3 separate regions of the Homo sapiens genome follow, and all the other regions are linked to region 3. Evidence: promoter capture Hi-C in 16 types of primary human blood cells and fetal thymus (Javierre and others, 2016). All regions are on one chromosome and are shown on one strand. Each heading gives the region's core, a stretch centred on a gene start or on the middle of the fragment in contact. The rest is flanking DNA. Distances are from core to core; before and after follow the strand shown.

What was found. The method cuts DNA at HindIII sites, captures the fragments that hold promoters and counts their contacts. A CHiCAGO score of 5 or more calls a contact.
Region 1: a contact is called between a fragment that was not itself captured here and the fragment with the promoter of AZIN1 in region 3, in 4 of 17 cell types (fetal thymus, neutrophils, activated CD4 T cells and 1 more). The highest score is 10.5, in fetal thymus.
Region 2: a contact is called between a fragment that was not itself captured here and the fragment with the promoter of AZIN1 in region 3, in 6 of 17 cell types (total CD4 T cells, naive B cells, naive CD4 T cells and 3 more). The highest score is 8.3, in total CD4 T cells.

Annotation. Positions count from the first base shown.
Region 1 is chr8:100,945,351-100,948,541 of GRCh38, forward strand. The region is part of intron 2 of YWHAZ (tyrosine 3-monooxygenase/tryptophan 5-monooxygenase activation protein zeta); the gene reads right to left. Among named protein-coding and RNA genes, the nearest start is that of YWHAZ, 5.1 kb to the right of the region's middle. The HindIII fragment of the contact is 2,056 bases long and covers 619-2,674 here.
Region 2 is chr8:101,318,182-101,321,745 of GRCh38, forward strand. LOC124901993 reads left to right here. Exons shown (of 6, transcript XM_047422526.1): 5 at 1,874-1,969; 6 at 2,574-3,081. The coding sequence ends at 2,614. Among named protein-coding and RNA genes, the nearest start is that of LINC02844, 57 kb to the left of the region's middle. The HindIII fragment of the contact is 504 bases long and covers 1,164-1,667 here.
Region 3 is chr8:102,862,668-102,866,098 of GRCh38, forward strand. AZIN1 (antizyme inhibitor 1) reads right to left here and starts at 1,496. Exons shown (of 12, transcript NM_148174.4): 1 at 1,140-1,496. MAILR (macrophage interferon regulatory lncRNA) reads left to right here and starts at 1,604. Exons shown (of 3, transcript NR_126339.1): 1 at 1,604-1,956. RefSeq lists enhancers at 1-373, 1,842-2,574 and silencers at 723-952, 1,613-1,962. The HindIII fragment of the contact is 10,250 bases long and covers 1-3,431 here.

The DNA of each region.
Region 1 (3,191 bases), core at 397-2,896, 1.9 Mb before region 3:
CTCAGAACTTTGGAGATTAGCTGCTTTTTGTAGGAAGAAAGTTTATTTTCATAGCTATTATAAAATAGGTGCTCAATATAAAAAATCTGGTTATCACTAATGCCACAAGCCAATACTATTATTTCTGCAAAGGGACACCTGCTTATTTTTCTCAAATTAAAAAATATATATATCAAAGCCCAGAAAAGGCTGGAGTAATAAAAAATTATAATTGATTTTTTATCATGTAAGATCTTAAAAATATAATTTAAAATATTTTTACTAATCATTAATAATGATTCAATAACTTTTTCTAGTAGAAATATCAGTTCTGCTACATTTTATTCTTCCATCTCACAGAAAGGGCAGAAGGAATTTTATGCAATATGTTTCCAGAGTCGATGTGACCTATTTGAAAAAGATGGTAGGAAAAAGAAGCCTATTATCGGTAAATATCAAATTTTCCCAAGCAGAAAAAGAAAAAGCTAGGGAAATTTTGCAGTGCTGCTGACCTAATTCTATGCTCTTTCTCTAAAGAAGCCTTTCTGCTTGTTTAACAAATATTTGAGCATCTATTACACGTTGAGTATGCAAAGATCACTAAGTCTTACTCCTGAAAAGACCAAGGCTGGAAGCAAAAGCTTGTTTAGAATTCTCTTCAAAGCCATTTGTATAGTAAAGAAATTAAACTCTCATTTATCCAAACTTTCAAAGTGTAAATACCATTAAAACTTTTTGGGAAGCCAGTGCTATTCTGGAGGGTAACGATGTGGGTAGGGACCAGAGTGAACTTCCTTAATAATCATAACAAGAAGAAACTATTTATATGAAGAGATTATCTTGTTATCCTCATCTACTGGTTCTATGCAAACAAAGTTTCTTCATAAGGAAACTAAAGGGAAGCATAGTCAAAACTGCTACAAGTTGGGCTGGACGTGGTGGCTCACTCCTGTAATCCCAGCACTTTGGGAGGCCAAGGCGAGTGGATCACCTGAGGTCAAGAGTTAGACGTGACCTGGTCACCAGCCTGGCCGACAAGGTGAAACCCCATCTTTACTAAAAGTACAAAAATTAGCTGGGCGTGCTGGTGCACGCCCAGTAATCCCAGCTACTCGGGAGGTCAAGGCAGAAGAATTGCTTGAACACGGGAGGCGGAAGTTGCAGTGAGCTGAGATGGTGCCATTGCACTCCAGCCTGGGTGACAAGAGCAAAACTCAGTCTCAAAACAAACAAACAAACAAACATACACAAAAAACAAACCTGCTACAAGTCTTTTCCTTGGAAAAGACTCACAATGACAGGAACTTTTATACTTTGTATATGGAAAACATGCACATACCTACCTGGTATTGCAAATAAGCGTGTTAGTAAAAGGTAAATGTTACATTCCTTTTTATTCCTAAAATTGACTTTTGTCTTAAGGGAAATGTTAATGTGTAACACACCCTTTGAAGCCAAAATAAAAACTTTTCGATCAGGTGTAATAATTGGGAAAAACACTCCAGACTGAACAAAACTGAATTACACATACACAGATATTAGTTAGTAAGGTGAGCAAAAAAAAAAAACAAAAAAAACAAAAAAACCCAATACATTTTTTATTATAGAAAAAAAAAATCACATTTTCAAAATTTAAATATTTGGCCGGGCGCGGTGGCTCAAGCCTGTAATCCCAGCACTTTGGGAGGCTGAGGAGGGCGGATCACGAGGTCAGGAGATCGAGACCATCCTGGCTAACATGGTGAAACCCCGTCTCTACTAAAAATACAAAAAAATTAGCCGGGCGCAGTGGCAGGCGCCTGTAGTCTCAGCTATTCGGGAGGCTGAGGCAGGAGAATGGCGTGAACCCGGGAGGCGGAGCTTGCAGTGAGCCGAGATCGCGCCACTGCACTCCAGCCTGGGCAACAGAGCAAGACTCCGTCTCAAAAAAAAAAAAAAACAAAAAACAAAATTTAAATATTCTTATTACCTTAGCAAAATCACAAAACAGACATTTGTCACTTGGCCCCAATAAAAGCAAGATATTCCTTTTTTCAACTTAGATACAAATAGTAGCTATCATTCTAAAGGTTTCAATAAGCAAAGAACAAAAAAATGCCCCAAGACAGATGCCTCATTGAGTTTGTGGCTGTGAACCCAAATAAGCATGTTTAAAAAATCACTATTCTTTAAAAAGACAGTGTCAAGTAAGTATCATTTGAGAAAATTACAGTTTAGGAACTGATGCTATTCCATTAGTAAATACAAATGTAAAGAAATGATAGTATCATCACAACTTTAACAAAAACCCCAAACCCACAACCACATCAGACATTATCCTATTGCTCATTATAGCACTTCTTCCATAAACAAGGTTCATATAGTAAGTAACAAACCTGGATTTCCATACTGAGTTCCAGATTCAGTAATCTGTCCAGAAAAATCGAGATGCTGCCCCTCTTTGTATATCAGAGCCCTTCCATACTGGTTAAGTGTAACCATTTAGTAAAACCACTTTAAATATTATTCCAAAAACTGCCAGCTTGGTTGGATTCTCTACTGGTTTATCCTCAAATTTAAACTATTCTTGATCAAAAAGCCCTACTTTATATGACAGATTAAAATTAACCAAAATGTAGTTTAATTCTTTTAAGCGCAGTGCTTCAACACAGTAAGTACTGAATACTTAAAATACTCGATTCAAACTGGAAAATCAAGCTTGAGTTGTTCATAACCTTTCATCATGGTTGTGAGTGTTCAAAATTTACCTTCAAGAATTCAATGCAGGAAGAGGTTTCATAGTTGTGACGCCAGAGTTTTCTGCATGGTTGACTCATTACATTAACATTATAGCGGCTAATCCTGAGAAGAGTACTATTTCTACAATGAGTATCCTATTACATCTCTCTTACCTAAAGTATGTAAAATTCCTTTATCCACAGATGTACATTTAAGATAACCAGCTATAGAGCTACTACAAATATTCTAACCATAAGTAAAACAGTAACACAATTAGTTTATATTTTCAATTAATATAAAATACAATACTAAAGTCTGTTATTTTTAACAAAACTGAACTGTTTCATAATCATTGTTGCAATTATTTTACATACACGTATCTATAATTGTCTTAACATCTTTTTAGTCATGACACCATGAAGACTTTTAAATTTGGAACACACAATGTTTAGAAGGAAAAGAAAAACCAAACAAAAAGTTAAGAGTAATGTAAC
Region 2 (3,564 bases), core at 166-2,665, 1.5 Mb before region 3:
TAAAACTCAAGAAGGTGGGATTACGCCTAACTTTAGGCCTATTAGTCTTTTCATTTTCTGCCTCTTGTCTGTTGTTTTAATGTAAAGCTTTCCCCTCTTTTAAAGAAATAAGAAGTCATCTGCATTTTGAGTACTAGATTAGGATACAAATAATGAGTATCTTCAATGCTTTACTTATTTAAAAGGCATTTTATTTTTATCCTCACAAAGTTTACACTAAAAATCTGTGCTCTGCAATTCTCTTACATGATAGTAATTTATTTGGCAGGCATTTACTAAGCACCTACTATGCGCCAAGCACTAGACTAGGTTCTGGGAATGCAAAAGTGATTTAGAATGAAGTACCTTCTCTGATGCCAAGACACTTAACAAGAGCATGATGTGATTGGCAGATGGCTAGTTATTCCTCAATCTCCCTTCTCTCATTCTTCATAATAGTGGAGTTTTCTCAGTCCCTTTGGACATCTGTGGCAGATAGTGAGAGAAGGATGAGACCTTGAGAGACCAGGAGAAAAGAGCAAGGATAGGGCATGGGAGTAGGAGTGGGGACAGTTGCCAGGAGTAGAGAGGAAGGAATCTTTGCAGCAACATGTGACCTACACTTCAGGTCTGCAGGGCCTGCCCTTTAGACCCACTCCATAAATGTTGATTTCAGTTTCTTTTACAATTCCAGATTTTATGCTTATGAAAAGTCATATGGCAAGGTTGCTTGCTCAAATACTCACGAGAATGACCCATAGACCGAATTTGTTCCAGCTGCAGCCCAGCTGGTGTTTATGACAGACTTGTTAGCAGCTTTGAAATAGAGAAATAGAAGTTGCAAAAAAATTCCAGTTCCATCCTCTCCATTTAATCTTCTCCATGTTGGAAAAAAAAGATAAGCTGCTCCCAATATTTAAAAGCTTTCTATAAAATAAATTGCAAGTAGCTACAAAATTCTGGTATCTGCATTTTCTGACTGCAGATCTTCTCATTCAACCCTAAGTCTCTTTAGTTTTTAATATATGTCATTCTTTATCTCTTCTAAAATAAATGAAAGGACAGTTGGATCTTTGGAGGCAGCTGTTGCTCCTCCAAGTTAAGGAATCTCTGTTCCAGAAATTTCTCCTTCCCTGCCTACATTGATTTCCCAACAAACAAGCTTTGACCAAGCTTGCCAAGCAAGCTTTCTTTTCCCCTTCCAACCTTGCTGTCAGGACAACATTCCTGCCACACTCCTCCCCAAGCTCAGACACTAGACCATGTACTCCCTCCTTCTATCATCACTTGAATTTCAGGAAGCAAATCCTTTGACTCAACCAGAAGAGGATTACTTAGTGCTTTCTTCATTCTTCATTTTAATTTTCATCTAAATGCATCAACACTCTACCATCTGAGGCTTTGATTTTCTTTTAACTACAATTCAAGTGTTTTTAAGATTTAAAGACTCATCTTTCTGTCTCCTGTTTTTATTTTGCCATTTGGATTAGTCAGACAAAGTCCTTTCTTTGCAAGGAAATTGTCTTTGCAAGTTGGGGTTTATTCATCTCCTAAAAATATTCTTGGGGCATGTATAAAGCTAGAAATGCATGTGTAATATGCCAAGCATGTAAGTACAAAGACAGAATTTTTGCACATAATTTCAGCCATTCAGTTATTTCCAGGTTCATAGTCTCTTGTAATATGTAAGCTTTCACTGGCCACACTATGGAAAACTTCCATTTCTTTCAATGGTTGAGATATGAGATTCTTTGTGAATTGTTTCTTCTGGCTAGATGAAAATTACTAAAATGGCATTAGTAATCACTATATTAGTCTGTTTTCTGTTGCTTATAAGAGAATACCTGAAACTGGGTAATTTATAAAGAAAAAAATTTATTTCTTACACTTACAGAGGCTGAGAAGTCCAAGGTCGAGGGCCTGCATCTGGTGATGGCCTTCTTACTGGTGGGGACTCTGAAGCATCCTGAGGTAGGCAGGGCATCACATGGTAAGTGGGCTGAGTGCGTTTGTGTACTAGCCCAGGCTCTCTTCCTCTTCTTATAAAGCCATCCATTCCACTCCCATGATAATTCATTAATCCATTAACCCTTTAATCAATTAATCCATGATGGATTTATCCATTCACTGGGGCAGAGCCCTCATGATCCAATCACCTCTCAATCCTGAAACATTTGTGTTCAAGTTTCAACATGAGTTTTGGAGGGGACAAATATTCCAATCATATAACAATGGCCCGTGTCCAAGTAAGCCCACAGCAGTGTGTACTTAACCTTAGAACCACCCAGAACATTCTTGAATCTTTCTCTCATGGTTCAGGAGGTCTTCTCGGTCTCTCAGTTTGTTACTTAGGGCATCACTAGACTATTGATTATCCATAGTGGCAGGAATATGTCAATTATTTGAGCTTCCCAGAAAGAATTTGACATTCTGAACAATTAGAAGTACACTTGAAAACATATCAATAAATATGTTGACATATAAATGGCCACATTTTCGAGCAGGCTAAATGTTAACAGATAAGAAATGATTTGGCCATAAAATAGATAAGCAGATACAGATGCTGAGATTCAGTTGCTTTATTTTTTTTTCAGGTTGGAGCAGAAGGAACAGCCAGGGAAATGCATCCATTTAACCTTCCAGACTCTGGAGTCCACCTTCTTTGTTTTAAGTAAATTTTAGATGCAGAGGCCATGAACTCAGCTTATAATCAGCCTTATTGCTCATTCACTTATTCCATATTCAAGATATTTAATGCTCATATTGCTCTGACAACATGCCAAGGATCTTCAGCTGACACCTCCCTGCATACTCTACTGGGTGATATCTCTTCTGATTTGTTTTTGTGACTGTTCTGATTAGTTGGACTCATGCTATACAGGTTATTCAATATTTTGAATAACATCCTTGACTTATAAAATTGTAATGGGATAATAGTTTATAGTATCAACCAAGGTTTGTTTGTTTGTTTTCTTTTTCCCTCAAGAATCTCATTATATTCCTGATACTTCCTCAATCAATGTGTAAGAGCATTCCAGCCTATGGTATTAGTCAGGATAGGCCAGACTGTGCTGCAATAATAAACAGCTGCAAAAATCTCAATGGTTAAACACACAATAGTTTATTTCTCATTCATGCTACATGTTCATTGTGGGTCAGTGAAGGACTTTGCGCCATATAGTCACTCAGGACTCAGGCTAAAGCAGGTGCCGTCACCTTGTAGCTGTATCATTTGAGTGCATGTCCTCCTTGATAGGCACAGCAGAAGAAAGCACATAAAATTGTACATGGATGTAGGTATGTGGCAGTCATTATTTTCACCCATATTTCATGGCCAGAACTGGTCAAGTGGCCCTGCCTAACTGCAAGTGCTGGGCAATGTAAGAGACCAAATGGAAGTTTTGCCTCATGGGAAAAAAGACTCAGCAAATGTGCTGAGAAAAGAAAAAAGTGTCAACTGAGTTTTAAAATAAACTATCAAAACATTTGGTAATGAGCATATCTTGGAGACAAAAAAATATGAAATTACAAGTACCAGGCTTTGAGCCTCAGAAACCATACCTAAAGAACTCAAGAGCAAAACAT
Region 3 (3,431 bases), core at 246-2,745:
TTCGCTGAGCACAAGGCAATTCCCCCTCCTTTGAGTCCTTAGATTCCCACCCAGTCTGGGAATTCACGATAGAAACACGACGGGACACAGAACTAATATAACCAAGATGCCACCACAAAATTCAGTTAAATGTGCTGAAACATGAGGCGGTAAACTGTGTCCCCGACTGTTTCGGGTTTCTGAACCAGCAGCTTTGTCTACGAAACACACATTCAGGATACCGTGTAAGGGTTAGAACATGTTACCACCACCAACTGTTGGCAGTCAAGACAGTAGTTGATAAGCCACCCGTCTACCAATCTCCCTCTTTCTGCCTAGGAACCATGGCGCGGACGGAAAAACGAAGCCATGGTGACTAATCCTCAGGCTCCAGGAGGTGACTGGGGTGAGTGAAGGCGACTTGACCCAATCAGGAGCGCCGCAGGGGCGGAGCAGCAGCCTCGAGGCTTCCAGAAGGGGCCAAAAGCCTCTCGCTGGCTACCTGACACCGGGGCTTCCCCGCCGCCAGGCCCCAAGTGGCGTCAACTTTCCTCCACCAGAGGGGGACCGCGCTCCCCGCGCCCCCCAGGAATCCGACTTCCTCCGCAGCTGTCACCAGAGGCCGGCGCGGGGCCCGCCCCGCTCCATTCATAACCAGGACCCCAGCCGTTGCAGCCCACAGCGCCGCCCGCCCGCCGGGCTTCGGGAGGCAAAGGTGGCGGCGGCGCACCGCGGAGTAGGGGCTGCGGGACCCCGGCCCCTCAGGGCTGCGGCCGGGCCCCCTCCCCGGAAACAGCAATGCACCACGGGAGAGGGGTGGGGGCCGCACGCCGCCAGGAGGGGACGGCGACCCCCGGCGGCGAGACCCCCGCGCGCTCCCCCACTGGCACACGCCCCCTCGCCCCAACTGCTGCGGCTCCGGCTCCGCCAAGCGTCCAGCAGCCGCCCGAAGGTCCTGAGGCGCGGCCCGCCGCCCAGCCCCGCCGCCGCCGCCGCCGCCGGGGGCACAGACAGCCGCCGCCGCCATGTTCGAGGCGGCCGGCCGCGGGGCGCTGCGGGGACGTCTTAAGGGCGGCGGGGCCCAGCCGGAGCCCCCCAGCCGCCCCCCAAGGCCAGCCCCGCGTCCTGGCCCCTCCCGCGCTCCTCGGCTCGGTACTCACGTGAGATAACGGCCCAAAGAGTCGGGTAAAGCGTCTTCTCTTTTTCGGCGGAATTTTTAAAGAGGGATGTGGTTACCTTGAGCAGAAATACCCAAGGCGGCCTGGGCCATAGGCTGCGGGAACGACTTGGGGGTAAAAGCGCGGCACCGACACCAGCTGTGTGCAGCAGTGGCGGCGGCGGCCGAAGGAGAAATAGAACAGCGCAGGCAAAAGAAGAAAGGCGCGGGCTGGGTGGGAAGAGGATTCGGACTCGTCACACTGCAGAGCAGCAGAGCGAGAAAGGATGAGAAGAGGCAGAGAAGGCGACGGCAGAAGAAAAAAGGAAAAACTGCGGCCGCGATCAGAGCCTGAAAGTGTGAGAAGGCGGCGCCAGCGACGCCAGTATTTATATTAGGGGGCGTGGCCTGGTGACATCACAGCTGGCCGGGCAGCCGCGCGAGCGGGGCGGAACCCGGTTGCAGCCCGGAGAAAAGGGAGGGGGACGGAAGAGGAAGGAGGACTGAGCCCGGGAGAGAGAGGGGAGGGGTCGGCGCGCGACCGGGTCATGCAGGTGCAGACTGGCCGGTCGCTTCCCGCCCTCCAGCCACCCGCAGCTCCCCGGCAGGCGAAGGGCGGCCGCGCGGGTGTGGGCCGAGAGAGGGAGGCGGCTCGGCTGGAGCGCGCCGTCCGCCCGACCCCCGCCGCCTCTCGGGCGCCTGCGCTCACGCTGCGGGGCCCAGCGCATTGTGAGCCGGGTCGAGCTCCACGCTGGCAGCGTCTGAGAGCTGTCCTGGGCCGGAGGTGGCGCGAACCCTGTGCGGCCTAGAGTGGGCCTGGGGTAAGCCTGTCGGCGCCGCTGCCGAGCCTTCGCGTCCAGCTCCCTCCGCTTTGTGAGGCCTGTAGTTTACCCTGGGGAGTGTCCTCCCGGGCTGAGGCGCCCGCCCTCGGTGATGCGGTACTCCTTTAGGGAAGCGAGTTCCTCGTGGCCAGAAAGGACCGGCCCAGTGTCCGGGTGTTAAAAAGGGTTGTGACCACGTGAAAATGTCCTCAGTGCTCGAACGTTGCAATACGGTGCAGTGGAAATTTTTTAAAGGAATATGGCTTTTATGTCTTCATTTTTAAAAGGATTGGTGGAGTCAGTCCCAAGCAGGACCCGCGTTGGAGAGGGGATTACTGATGTTACAAGCGCACATTACTTCAATCCCCTAGGTCTCATTTTCGCGGTCGTTTTAATTTTTCTACTCCACAACAGACTTTTTTTTACTAGGGGTTCTAAGATTACCTACATAGCTTTTAATTTATTTTCATCTTTTTTAGATGCCTCAGCACTAATGATCATGATCAGAGACCCCGAGTTCTCTCGTGCTGCTACGCTTCGCAACACATAGCACAAATGGAATATGTGTTGACACACCCCTCTGAAGTTAAGATCTTTGATATTAAGACCCTGACTTTTTTCCCTTTCATTCTTCCGAACCCTCTGTGTACTTTGAGCAGCACTGTGGTTGATTAATAAATCATCAAATGTGAAAGGAAGAAAGCGACCTTCCTGTGTGGAAAAGCAGGGTATCTTGCGAGGCTGTATGAGAGAGTATTCGGTAGAATCAGGAGCTGTGGACGCATTCCTGATTTTGTTTTTCCTTATTTTGCTCGGCTATATCTTGGCTCTGTCTTTTATTTCTTCAAAGTTCTGTTCTATTCAGAACATTTGAAAACACAGCCATTCACTAGACCCTCTCTGGTGGAGGAAGAAAAACTAGAGATGAATACAATATTTGAAACCTTGCTTACAATCTAGCAGGGGAAATAAGACAGCAATACAAAATAAATTGTTGGCTGATACAAATAAAATGCTGCAAGGACCAAGTGGAGGGAAGAGATGATTGCAGCTAAGTGAGAGAAAGGCTGCTGGGGAAAGGTAAAGAGTGATTTTGAGAAAAGCCTTTCTAGACAAAGGTGCTTCCTTTTTCACCAAACTCGCCTGTTTGGTGATTTTGAGAGTAGATGTTCCAGTGTTCCAGGCAAGGGAAACGGATGAGAGAAGGCACAGAAGTGGGTGGGTTTAGAGAATTGTGAATAGCCTTTCTGGTTCCAGCATAGGGGCATGGTTGCAAATGAGATTGAAACGGTAGATTAGGGTGACATCAAGAAGACATTGGAGGCTGGGCGCAGTGGCTTACACCTGTATTCCCAGCACTTTGGGAGGCCGAGGAGGGCGGATTACCTGAGGTCGGGAATTCGAGACCAGCCTGACCAACATGGAGAAAACCCGGCTCTACTAAAACTACAAAATTAGCTGGGCATGGTGGCACA